Regions from separate parts of the Homo sapiens genome. Here region 1 is linked to region 2. Evidence: promoter capture Hi-C in human tissues and cell types (Jung and others, 2019). All regions are on one chromosome and are shown on one strand. The core of a region is centred on a gene start or on the middle of the fragment in contact, and the rest is flanking DNA. Distances in the headings are between cores, read along the strand shown.

Region 1 (6,756 bases), core at 2,150-4,649, 350 kb before region 2:
ATTCCTCCTAAGGACTGGGCCTCTTCTCATTCATTCTTATCCTGACTACATTGTGTTGAATCTTCCTATTGTTCAATTTCCGCATCTGTAAAATAGGCAAAAGAATACCTAGCTTGCTGATTTGTTGTAAAAATTAGAGGTAGCAAGCGTTGATACAGGAAAGTGATTTTTTTAGACTATTGTGGATAAATATCAACAGATGTTATGAACTAATTGGCTTGAATGTGTTTGATAATATAGGATGCTGTATCTATTCTAATTTTGTATTTCGTTGCTGCTTTAAATTTACTGAGAAACTACTCTTTTCATAGCTTTGACCCTTTTATACACATATTTGTAATCTTGAGCAACCAATATTGATGGATCTCTGCTGTGAGAGAGATGGTCCTTTAAGGAAATGTCATAAATACTTGATTTTGATGTTTCTATTTTTAAAATTTTGCAGTATTCACGGTAACTAGCCAATTTTAAGATATGAATACTATGTCAAGGATTTACTTTTTCTAACATTTAGTACTTGGAGTGGACAGAATGTATTTTAAGAAAAGATTTCTCCCTGTCTTAGTTGTTCCCCTTTGGCCTGTGAAGAGTGGAACAGGAGTTACACAAATAGAGATGATTGCCTCTCCATCCTGACAAAGTATGATAAAGACCACCGAAGTGTTGTACGCAAGAAAGCACAGGATGGCTGGGATGAGTGAACTATGTATCCCAGGTTTTACTTAGGCCTCAGCATCCAGTGGTAACCCTGTCAATTCTTTGCTCTCTCTGATCATTTGCAAGTATTGAGAGGAAGACACTATTTTGGGGTTAATTAGAATCATACAGTATTTATCTTTTGTGACTGGTTTATTTCATTGGTTTAATATCCTCAAGCTTCATCCACGTAGCAGTATATGCCAAAATTTCCTTCCTTTTTAGAGCAGAATATTTCATTGAATGCATGTGTCATATTTGGCTTATCTATTCATCTGTTGATGGACAATTCCATTGCTTTCATGTTTTAGGTTTTGTGAATAATGCTGTTACTAACATTGGTTTACAAATACATTGCTGAGACCCTACTTTCAGTTCTTTTGGTTATATACTTAGAACTGGAATTGCTGAATCATATGGTAATTCTATTTTTTAATTTTTTGAAGAACTTCCACACTGTTGCTCTAACTTCTATTATTTATTTGCTTCTGCTAGCTTTAGGTTTAGTTTATTCTTTTTATGGTATCTTAAAGTATGAAGCTAAGTTACTAACTTGGAATCATCCTTTTTTAAATTGATACATAATATTTTACATGTTTATGGGGTATATGTGGGTACATTTCTTACACGCATAGAATGTGTAATGATCAAGTCAGGGTATTGGGAGCGTCCATTGCCTTGAGTATTTATCATTTTTGTGTGTTGGGAACATTTCGAGCCCTCTCTTCTAGCTACTTTAAAATATATAATGCACTGTTGCTAACTATAGTCACCCCGCTCTGCTATCAAACATTAGAGCTTATTTATTTTAACTGTATGTTTATACTCATTAAATAATTTCTCTTCATCCTTCCTCCCACCCACACTCTTCCCATCCTCTGGTATCTGGCATTTTATTAATCACTTTCATGATTTTTTTTTTTTTTTTGAGATAGAGTCTCTCTCTGTTGCCCAGGCTGGAGTGCCATGGCAAGATCTCGGCTCACTGCAAACTCTGCCTCCTGGGTTCAAGCAAGTCTCCTGCCTCAGCCTCCCAAGTAGCGAGAGTTACAGGCATGCGCCACCAGGCCTGGGTAATTTTGTATTTTTAGTAGAGATGGGGTTTCACTATGTTGGTCAGGCTGGTCTCGAACTCCTGACCTCAAGTGATCCACCCACCTCAGCCTCCCAAAGTGCTGGGATTACAGGCGTGAGCCACTGCACCCGGTCGAGTTCTACTTTTTTAGCTCCCACATATGAGAATATGTGGTATTTGTCTTTCCTGTCCCTGGATTGTTTCATTTAACATAATGACCTCAAGTTTCATCTATATTGCTGAAAATAACATAATTGCATTCTTTTGTATGGCTAAATAGTATTCCATTGCGTGTGTGTATATATATAAATCTATATATATATATTTATATATACATATATAACAACATTTATGTTGTTCCTCTACATGGGTCATATTTCCCAATTTCATTTTATGCCTTTTTTTTCTTGTTGTTGTTAAAAATTGGGCATTTGAAAAAAGTGGACACTTCTCCCCATCTTTGCAAACTGATGTGGAAGACTGTTACTACTTAGTGGGCCCACCTATCCTTGACATTAGCCTGGGTTGAAGTCTTAATGTCTTTTCAGATCCTTTCTGGGTATGCATTCTGTCTGGGCCTCTGTGTGTGTGTGTCTGTCCCTGTGTGTTTCCAGGCTTGTTTTAAGTGTCTTAATTTCCCAAAATATCTCACTCTAGCTTTTTCTAGGGGGTTCTAAATGTTCTATTGCATTCCTTGGCCTGTAATCTCTTCACTCTAGATGTTCAATGGTCTGAAGTGCCTCTGTGGTTTTCATATACTACAGTAAGTACCACGGCCTTCTATGAACTGGAGCTTCCTAATCCACCCTCTTGCTGACATCACACTAAATATTCACTTTTGTAACTACTTTTATATTTCAAAATTTGCATCCCTTTTCAAAAAATAGGTTATACACCAAAGTGTGTGAGCGTTAGGCCCCTGAATCTGAATCTACATCTGGAAGTAAGAAGAAAGAAATTTTAACTGTGAAACAAGTTTGAATTTTCGTTATTTACATGAATTGCAAAAACAAGTCATTTATATCTAAAGGTGATAAAAGATTTTATTTTTATTTTTTGTTTTATGAAATCAACCCTCCTATCCAAAGTAACAGAAATAATCTATTCAGAGTCATGGAAAAAACAGAGTGGGCTGTTGGAATTGGAAAGAAACAAGTATGTGTGTGATCTATCTCTATCATCTATCTATCTATTATCTATCATTTACTTCATGGCTTAGTGTATGCCCATATATGTCCTTTAAAGGGGGAAATAATAATATTTAATCTGAGAACGTATTTATAATTTTGACAAGTGTTTGTGGACACTGGTTTTATAGTTAGGTAGACTTGAATTTATCCTAGGTCTGTTTTTGTTCACTCGGGAAAGTTGCTTATCCTCTAAATAACCTTGGTTTTCTCTATCTGTAAAATGACATCATAGAACATGTTTTAGGGTTGTGGTAAGAACAAAATGAGATAATTCAAGTAAAGGTTTTAGCATAATGCCTGACATGTAGAAAACACTAGCATTCAAAAAGGAGTCATTATTATCATTTTTACTATTACTTATTAATACATACTTGGAGAAGCAGGTAGTTTGGTGCTCTTACATTATCACTGAATAAATTGAGGCCAAGAGTTTAAATATTTTGTTCATAATTACTTAGGAATTTATGAGTATACCTTTAGCTTGTAAACTGTAGAAATTATTAACATCTTTGCCTTTCCATCAGTTCATTAAGAACTGCAAATTATAAATGTTTCTGGACTCTAAGCTGAGTATGCAGTATCTTATGAAAACATCAGGCAGGTGGGGTTGGATTTGGTATTTTTTCTAAGAATTTAGTCCCTTTATTGCTCAAATTACTGGAAAATCAATGACTTGTGCCAAACAAATTGTTTTCTTTCTCTAGACAAAAAGCAGATCAGCAAGTTTTCATATTGCACTATTTTCAATGGCTGGAGCATCAACATTTTACAACAAGAAAAAAATTAAAATTCTTCAACATTTGGAAAAGAAGTGTTTGTAAAACTTTTCACATCCATTCACCATCCGGAAAAGCAAGGTTTTACAGTGAGGCCTGATGATGTCTAGAGTCACCATGCATCTTGGAAAATGACCTCCTATTTATTTCTTCTACAGGACACCATGGTGTTCACCTTTCTACAACTTTACACTTGCTGAGGACATATTGTGGAAAATTAAGAGAAATATATATGGATGGCCAAGGCTGTAGATGGATGTCCAAGCCTTTTTACTGGGGAATGTTTTCAGAACAAAATGAGTTACAGGTTCAAGAGTGAAACCCAACAAATCTTGGCTCTTTTTTTCTCTACTAAATTCCAAATCAAAAGTATTTATGGAGTGCTTTTAATGTGCCACGCACTGGGCTAGAGATTCATAATTTTGATGGGAATCTGTGTATTCAAACTCTTTTAACGTGGAAACCTTGCTTGTGCAAGGTCCTCCCAGATCTTATCCTACTTTATCAAAGCTTGGCTAAATGCAACATGTCTTCTCCCCAGTGCCCTGGGTCTCTGTACACGCAGTAAAGTGGTCCTTAGACATATGCTGAAATAGGGCTTAATTTTCCCCATATACGAATGAGATAAATTCTACTACATGTAGCCAGACTTCGATAGGGAGAACACCCAAAGTCACTTAAAATAAAACTACACTTTCATTTTTGCAAGCCAAATAATCCTGGAGGAAATTGTGCTAATTTTTTTTTCAAATTTTCAGTTTACACATTGGAGTTTTGACTTCAATATGTAAAAAGTGCATGAAAATGAATGTAGTGCATCTTTCCTCATATGCTCTGCAGTGATGCGAACTGACTGCATGGCTAGCTGGTCACCTGATAAAGGGCACACAGAGATTCTTGTAGTTCATTAGGGATTACTCCGAGGTTGAACACAGGTTTTTCTTTTTCTCAGATATATAGGTAAGACTTGAACTTCAATTTCCTGCATAGTGAATATGGTTTCTATTGTCATGATTGAGCTTTTTTCATTTTAAACACTGAGAGCTTCTTTTGAGTTTGTGGGACCCACGCTTTTGGGCAAAGACTGCTTTCTCAAGGCACATATGTTCAGATGTTCAGGTCATGATGCAGAGGTATCAGCTGGGAGGTGCCCCAGGTAAGTTTGCTACTAAACTTCACCCACCCTCATCTGAGAGGCCACGTCTCTTCCCCTGAGTCTGGGGATCATGACACTTTATATGTCAGCTACTTTCTTTTTTCGTTTTATTTTATTTTATTTTTGAGATGGAGTCTCACTCTGTCTCTCAGGCTGGAGTGCAGTGGCACAATTTTGGCTCACTGCAACCTCTGCCTCCCAGGTTCAAGTGATTCTTCTAACTCAGCCTCCCAAGTAGCTGGGATTATAGGTGCACGCCACCACACCCAGCAAATTTTTGTATTTTTTTTTTTTTAGTAGAGACAAGGTTCTGCCATGTTGGCCAGGCTGGTCTCGAACTCCTGCCCTCAGGTGATCCGCTCGCCTCGGCCTCCCAAAGTGCTGGGATTACAGGTGTGAGCCACTGCACCCGGCCACATCAGCTACTATTTAATGAACATCTTTCCCTGGACAAGAACAAAACTCAAAGAAATCCAACAGATTGCAACTTAGTCCTGGGGAGAGAAAAGTCCACATGTTAAGCAGAAAGCTGAACCACATAGAATTCAACCTTTGGTGCCGCTAGTGTTGACAAGGAAGGATAGATTCTCTGAGCTAGAGTAATAAAGAAAGAGAAATGAGAAACTAGTATATCTCCAAAGGTTCTCAAAGTATTATTCCTGGACCAGTAGCATCAACATTCCCTGAAAATATGTTGGAATTAAAGATCTCAGCCTCCACCCAGACTTACTGAATCAGAAATTCTGGAGCAGGGTCCACTAATCCTTGTTTTAGTCTTCTGGGTGATTCTGATACACACTCAAGTTTGAGACCCTCTGTCTAGCTACACCATGCTCTTTTTACTTCAACTCATTATCCCCACAACATGATGCCATAATATAGGAGATTACATAGTGTCAGGCTTTGCTTAACTTAGGCTAAGTCTTTAGATAGATACAAAGAGGTCATTCAATTAGTGGTACCTATTGGATAGGGCTCTTATACCATCCATTTTGTTCCGGCAGTTCTTAGCTCAGTTCCTGGGACACAATAAATGATTAACAAATAGATAACTAGTTATTGAATGAGTGTGGATTGATGAAGTTTGAGTATACACACACACACACACACACAGACACACACAATGTGAGCCATACAAGAGAATGAACGGGAAAGCAAATTTCTTCTTGAATACTCATAAAATCAGCTTTTAATACCAAATATTATTTCTTTAGGCCATATCCCACTGGAGCCTGAATTGCTACAATAGCATTCTGGAGATTTTCCTCCTTTCTAGTATTGGCCTATCCTAATGTATTACATAACTAGCTTTCTGGAAAATATTCCTCAAGGATCACTTGCTTGCATAACTTACTTTAGAAATTCTTCAGTGTTTGAGTGTGTAGTTCTTTCTGTGCTGTGTGCCCATTGTATCTTGTGAATTCCTGTCTACTAAGGTAAATATCTGTCCACATGTCTCATTCCTTCACTAAACTAAGAAATCACTGTAAAGAAAAATGTATTAGTCTGTTCTCACACTGGTGATAGAGACATACCCATGACCAGGCAATTTACAAAAGAAAGAGGTTTACTGGACTTACAGTTCCACATGGCTGGAGAGACCTCACAATCATGGCAGAAGGTGAAAGTCACGTCTCACATGGCAGCAGACAAGAGAAGAGAGCTTGTGCAGGGAAACTCCCCTTTTTAAAACGATGAGATCTCATGAGACTTATTCACTATCATGAGAACAGCATGGGAAAGACCTGTACCCATGATTCAATTACCTTTTACTGGGTCCCTCCCACAACAGGTGGGAATTTAAGATGAGATTTGAGTGGGGACACAGCCAAACCATATCAAAAAATAATTTATTAATTACCT
Region 2 (5,915 bases), core at 1,014-3,513:
TGACAATAGGGGCATTTCTTCAGAGGCCAAATATCTGGTTGCTCAGAAGAGAGAGAAAGCTGCCTATGATACGTGCAGGAGATTTTATTTTTTTTTAAGTATAATTATGACATCACTGACCAGTGCCTATAATGTAAGACCTGGTTCAAAATCTGTTTAGAGAAATTCAATATAACAAAAGTGTGTTAAAAATTTATCAGCTACATGTATGAGTCCAGTTGCCATTCTAAATGCTGGTGTGGTTATGTAGTAAAGTTAAATTGGTATAAGCAACAATATTATTCCCTGGAAGGGACATTTCCTGGGTGGAACATAGAAAAGGAGACAGGTAATATGTTTGAACAATTAAAAACAAAAAACCCAGGAAGCTGGGCAGATGAGTGTATTGTGGTGGGAAGGGCAAGTTGTGACCTTAGATTTCTGTATCTTTAGTTGTTTCACTTTCTATACCATTTAATGATTGAAAAATGCGGTTGGACTGCCGGAACCACAGAACAGGAACTCCACTGGGGCAGGAGTTAAAGGCAAAAAAGCTTTTGTGTGGGTTCACTTACTATTTTAATTCATTTGTATTCTTAGTCAGCTTTAAAGGTATGATTGCTTCGTCTGCCTACTGCTCTTTCTCTTCTTCCTTTCATGCTGTTTTACCCTTACCTCTCTCTGTTCTCTGCTAGGGGATGTAACCTTCGGCACGGTGGGAAAAGCCAATTTTGCCATAGGCCTCAGCTTGCTCTGACTCGGCTACTAACTTGACTCATAGCTTCAGGCAGGTTATTTCATGGTTCTGATGCTCATTTTCCTCATCTTGAATCAGAGATTTTATTAACTGTCTCCTGGTTTGTGAAAATTCAATATGATCACGTGTTACATGCCAATCACAGAAACTGGTGCGAAGTTGTGTTCCTCAGTGGTAGCTATTGTTGTAAGTCGGAATTGCATGACAGTGGCAGCTGTTTTCTATCACGTCCTCATGTTTTCTAAATTTTTATGCCCCTTCCTCCCATTTCCTACCTTAGTATTGTTAATAGCTAACTTTTATTAAGTGGTTACCATGGCCCAGGACACTGTAATGAGGATTTTATGTGAATTACCTAATTAATTTCTCAGAAAGTATGAGATAGCTATTATTTTAAGCTATTTAAGCTATTTTAAGCTATTTAAACAACCAGTTTGTTGAAGTTAAAATTTAGAGAGGTTAAGTGAACTCGTCCATTTACACAATTAGTTGCCCAGGCAGAATTTGATTTGAGGTCTGACTCCAAAGCCGGAGCTCTTAATCACCAGTGACACCAACTAAACGCTTCATTTCAGAGCTCGCCTATTCCCAGAGGTCCCATTCCCGTTTTAAGGTTATTTTCTGTAACTCTCTTGTATCTAATTTAAAAATGCTATTTCCCAGAGATGAGTCCCTGATCTCCCAGAAGGCATGGATCATACATTTCTTTTCCTAATCCACCCAAATTCCTAGAGCGCACAGACTTAGGCTCGTTCATAGACGGGAAAAGAAACTGACCAGGCAGTGAAACCGAGCAAACAAAGTGCAATAAGACAATTACAGCAGGAAAGCGGCGTAAAAAAAAGTAGAAAAAGAAAGTAAGGGAAAGGGGAAATAAATAGCAAATATTCGCTGAGTGCCAACAATCGCACGGGAGGGTCTTTAGGGTTCTCTGCCGAGTACTCGGGACGGCTTGCTGAGCAGTACGCCGGCCTTATCTCATAGATGAGGCACCAAGGCTCAGGAAACAGTTCTGTGGATCTGGGCGGGCATCTTCCACCCACAGTCGCGCACACGTGGCATAGGTTAATAGGCTGTCTGGCTCGGGTACCTCTTCCCAGGGTCAGGGCGTTACAAAGGGAGGCTGCTGTCTTCCCATGAATCTATTAGGGACCTACAGGAGCGAAGAGAACCCTTCTGAGTATCAGCGAAGACAGCTTATTAAGACTTTACGAGTTTGCAAGCCATCCTCGTCCTATTTCCTCACTTCGGACTTTTTGGACACACCTTCCTTTTCCTGTGAGCCAACCCAAACGAATGAGTTACAAGTAATCGCCTTCTCTACGCCCAGCCAGTGCCCAGCACCAAGCATAGCGCCTCCTTGCAACACCCGGCCGAGCTCCCGGCGGCAGCGCGGGCGCTTGGGTCGGAGGCTGCTCAAAGGTGACGCGCGGCCGCCTCCTCCCCTTTAGGCGGGGCTCGCAAGGGCGGTGGGGGGGCCCGAGGAAGTCCGGGGGCCCTCGGTGATGCCCCCGCCCCCGCCGCGTCAGGGTTGCTCCCTGCGCTTCCGAGTGGCGACTGCAGCGGGTCCGGTGCAGGTGAGGGGCGCGCGCCTGCCCAGCTTTGCAGCCCCCGAACGCGGCCTCGCACAGGTGAGGGCGGTGCCGGGTTCACCTGGCAGCGCGCGTGGGCCGGGCAGCACGGTCGCCGCCTGGGGGTGGGCGTCTTCTCTCAACCGAAGCTGGGAGTTGGGGAGCTGGAGGGTCCAGGATGAGAATTCAGTGGCGCTACTACCCCGGAGCTGCTTGTGGTTCAGAGATCAGAAAGGTGTCCTGAGGACTGGAGGCAGAAATCCAGGCGTGGCGTACTGGAAGGCGCACTAGGGGAGGGCAGCCTGGCCCAGAATTTCTTTGCATTTTAAAGGCCACACATTCAGTCTCCCCGGGGCGCTACGGAGGTAGTCACCGCCACATCCAGGACTCCTTCCACAGAGGTCAGTTCCTCAGCTGGGTGGGCTTTAATACGCTCTCTTCGTAGAGACCCGGAGGTTCAACTTTAATTCTTTGCGCTGACATTTGCTCAACGACACCGGAGCAGAAATCCTTGGGATAATTGCGTAGGTAACAAACAGTGTCTCAATCCCACTGAAGATAAGTAAGTTAAAAATAAAGACAGTGATGTTGGTGGTGAACTTGAGTGGCGATTAGTTTCCGCAATTAGTTCCCTCCTGCACTGTCCATTTGTTAAGCAAATGTGCTGACGGCTTTTTTTAAATGATTGGGTTGCCATAAAAGAGGTTTTCTCTAGTCTGAATGAACTTCTGTGCGATGCTGACTGAGGGTTTCAGCCTCCTCTAGATGCTTACAAGAGCTTGGTCTGGAAGGTACAAGGGTGCGAACCCTTAAGGTACCAAGCAGCTTCTCAGTGAACCGTGAGACGTTAGAACACTTGCTTCAGGACGCACAGAATTCAGACACCACTTATTGAAGGATTTGTATGGATTATAATTTACATTAGCATTCATTTTTTGCTTGAGTCAGTAGCATTTCAATTCAACAAATATTTATTGTACACCTGTTAACGGGCAGACCTCTGAGAGCCGGGCTGGTGTGCTGTTGGGTAGCACAGGTGTTGATATTAATACAAAGGGGAATCTTAAGGCACTTATTCCTCACAGGTGGGTGTTTAGAACGAGACCAATGGTGCTGCGCTTTGCCTCAGCAGCACCTGTGTAATCGCTGGTTATAAGTATTTAAATGCAGGGAGAATGTAAATCTTTGAAGAGTCTCTGTCATTAGCCTGATCAGTCATTCCAAAGCAATAAAAATTGTCAAAACCATGCTTAAAATAAGATTATTAAGAATTAGCTCTGTGCCAAGCACCATGCTAGGCACTTTGTCTTGTCTATGAAATCTACAAAGTAGATACTATTCCCCTGTGCAGATAAGGAACTGAGGCAGAGAGGAGTCCAGTAATTTGTACAAGGTCAGTGGTGAATTTAGAAATTGCATGTGGCTATTTCTGAGTGCAGAACTCGTACTTTTTCACTATTCCATGCTGTCTCTAAGATGGAGAGTGTAAATCCGGCAGATTTAATATAAGAATTCAAATTTATATTCATAGATCCTATCTCCTGGGGATTAATGGAGTTAAAGTAGTCCTCAGGAATGAAGTGAGCACTGTTTTCATTGCACTTGTGTGGTCAAGCTGTGACCTATCTGTGACTAGTAGATGTAGCTTTAAAAGATAAAATTTATTATGTGTCTTAACATATTTTGAAAGGCCTTTCAAAATATGTTAAAAGATAAAATTTATTATGTCTCTTAACATATTTTGAAAGGCCTGATATATCCAAACAGGGCCAATTAATAAAATTGCATATATATTCTCTCTGTGTTATACATGGAAGGAACAGCTAATTTCCTATTATTGGTGTGCTTTACTATGGTCTCCTCCTGCAGAGGTGAGTTTCTCAGCTGAGTGGGCTTTGAAATCAATTTCAGCTTGATTTCTTACAGCTGCAAGATGATTAGCGGTCTCTTGTCACCTGGAAAGGACTTTGTGTTTGTGTAAACCTGTGCTCACACACGAATATATATTTTTCCTTAAACCTATTTCCAGAAGTACTACTTCTGGAAATTGTAGAGTACTGCAATGTGATGATCTGGCGAGGAATCAAGTTCCTTATTTGACTTTTGCATAAAGGATTTATAACAACTGACAATTTCTTTAAGTGCATGTAAACCAGGAAAGTAATTTTCAAATTAAAATTATTATACTGTGGAGAATGGAAAGTGAGTGAAAAATAGTACTCTGAATTCAAATAATATTTCTTGTTGTGGAAAACACTTGCTTTCTTAAAACTTTTCTTGTAATTGTTGGTAATTACACACAGAAATGGAAGGGGTTTTATATTTAAATTACCTTGAATTGTTGCCAGTTAACTGTTGAGAAAAGGCTTTGCCCGTGAAGCGAGGATCAGGTAGAATATTTTGCCTGCGTCAATCTTGGCACAGATTTTTTTTTTCCCTCTATCTTCACGTGGAGGTGAAACAGCCAGACACCTTAAACTCCTCTTTAGGAGCTGAGCTGTTAAGTCCTTCCTAGAAGGTGTTTATAAAAGTGTGCCTGACCTGGTAAGGTGTTCTCATGGGGAACCAGGGTGGGTGATGAAGGAGGAGAGTATGTAGGGGATATGAAGCAGGGGCAGTTCCAAGTTTTGTGAGGCCTAAAAGGTAAACAATTTGGAGACTCTCTTTAAGAAAATTAATACAAAATTAGGTGTGAAAGTGAATATGTATTTAAAATGAGAAAAAGAGATGATAATTTACTGGAGATTTCTGCCTGTTTCTGTGGAGATCTTGGGCAATTTACCAGAAATGCTTACAAAAACAGGAGTGCTGATTGCAATCCGGCTTCCCCTCTCCCTGAGAACACTCAGCATTTCCCAGCAGCTTGTCACACCCACGGGGGGCCCTGCTAGTGAGAAGCCCAAAGTTGAAGCTCTGTTACCCTCAAAGAGTGAGAGGGAAAGTTGTGGTTAAAGGCAAAGGACTCATGCTCCACTGAGCAGAGAAGAGACTGCTGGATGGGACAGCAGAGACACTCTGGACACTCATGTCCAACGAACAATTCTGAGAGCTGGTCTTCAAGACTTTCCAGGTTGGTTTGTTTCTCAGGGATGCCTTTGGCCATTGGCTTTTCCAACTATCAGTCACCATTTATTGGGAGTTTTCTAATGTCCCAAGTCCTGAGTAAGGCGAAGTCCTGATTGTCAAGAACTCCCAGTCTCATGGAGCTGATTTCATTGATCACAGTGCTTTGTTATAGGCTTGCATAGAGATGCCACAGGGGCCTTGGAGGGTTCCTGATGGCTTGAGCTGAGTTTGGAGTTACTCTGATGGAGTCCAGGAGGGTCATTCTAAGTGAGCAGAGAGCCATTAAAAGCCCTGGTGGTGGTCGGGCACAGTGGCTCACGCCTGTAATCCCAGCACTTTGGGAGGCCGAGTTGGGTGGATCACCTGAGGTCAGGAGTTCGAGACCGGCCTGGCCAATATGGCGAAATCCCATCTCTACTAAAAGTACAAAAATTAGTCCGGTGTGGTGGCAGTGCCTATAATCCTAGGTAATTGGGAGGCTGAGGTAGGAGAATGGCTTGAACTTGGGAGGCGGAGGTTGCAGCAGTGAGCCAAGATTGCAC

Evidence for each region. Contacts are between HindIII fragments. The study calls those that stand out against the background at their distance.
Region 1: a contact is called between a fragment that was not itself captured here and the fragment with the promoter of MCTP2 in region 2, in 1 of the 25 tissues and cell types used here (lymphoblastoid cells).

What each region holds. Positions count from the first base shown.
Region 1 is chr15:93,874,369-93,881,124 of GRCh38, forward strand. It overlaps LINC02207 (long intergenic non-protein coding RNA 2207), which reads left to right. Exons shown (of 4, transcript NR_120321.1): 4 at 3,666-3,988. Among named protein-coding and RNA genes, the nearest start is that of LINC02207, 21 kb to the left of the region's middle. The HindIII fragment of the contact is 6,244 bases long and covers 278-6,521 here.
Region 2 is chr15:94,229,298-94,235,212 of GRCh38, forward strand. It overlaps MCTP2 (multiple C2 and transmembrane domain containing 2), which reads left to right and starts at 2,264. Exons shown (of 23, transcript NM_001385001.1): 1 at 2,264-2,367. RefSeq lists an enhancer at 519-658 and a silencer at 2,194-2,323. The HindIII fragment of the contact is 15,455 bases long and covers 1-5,915 here.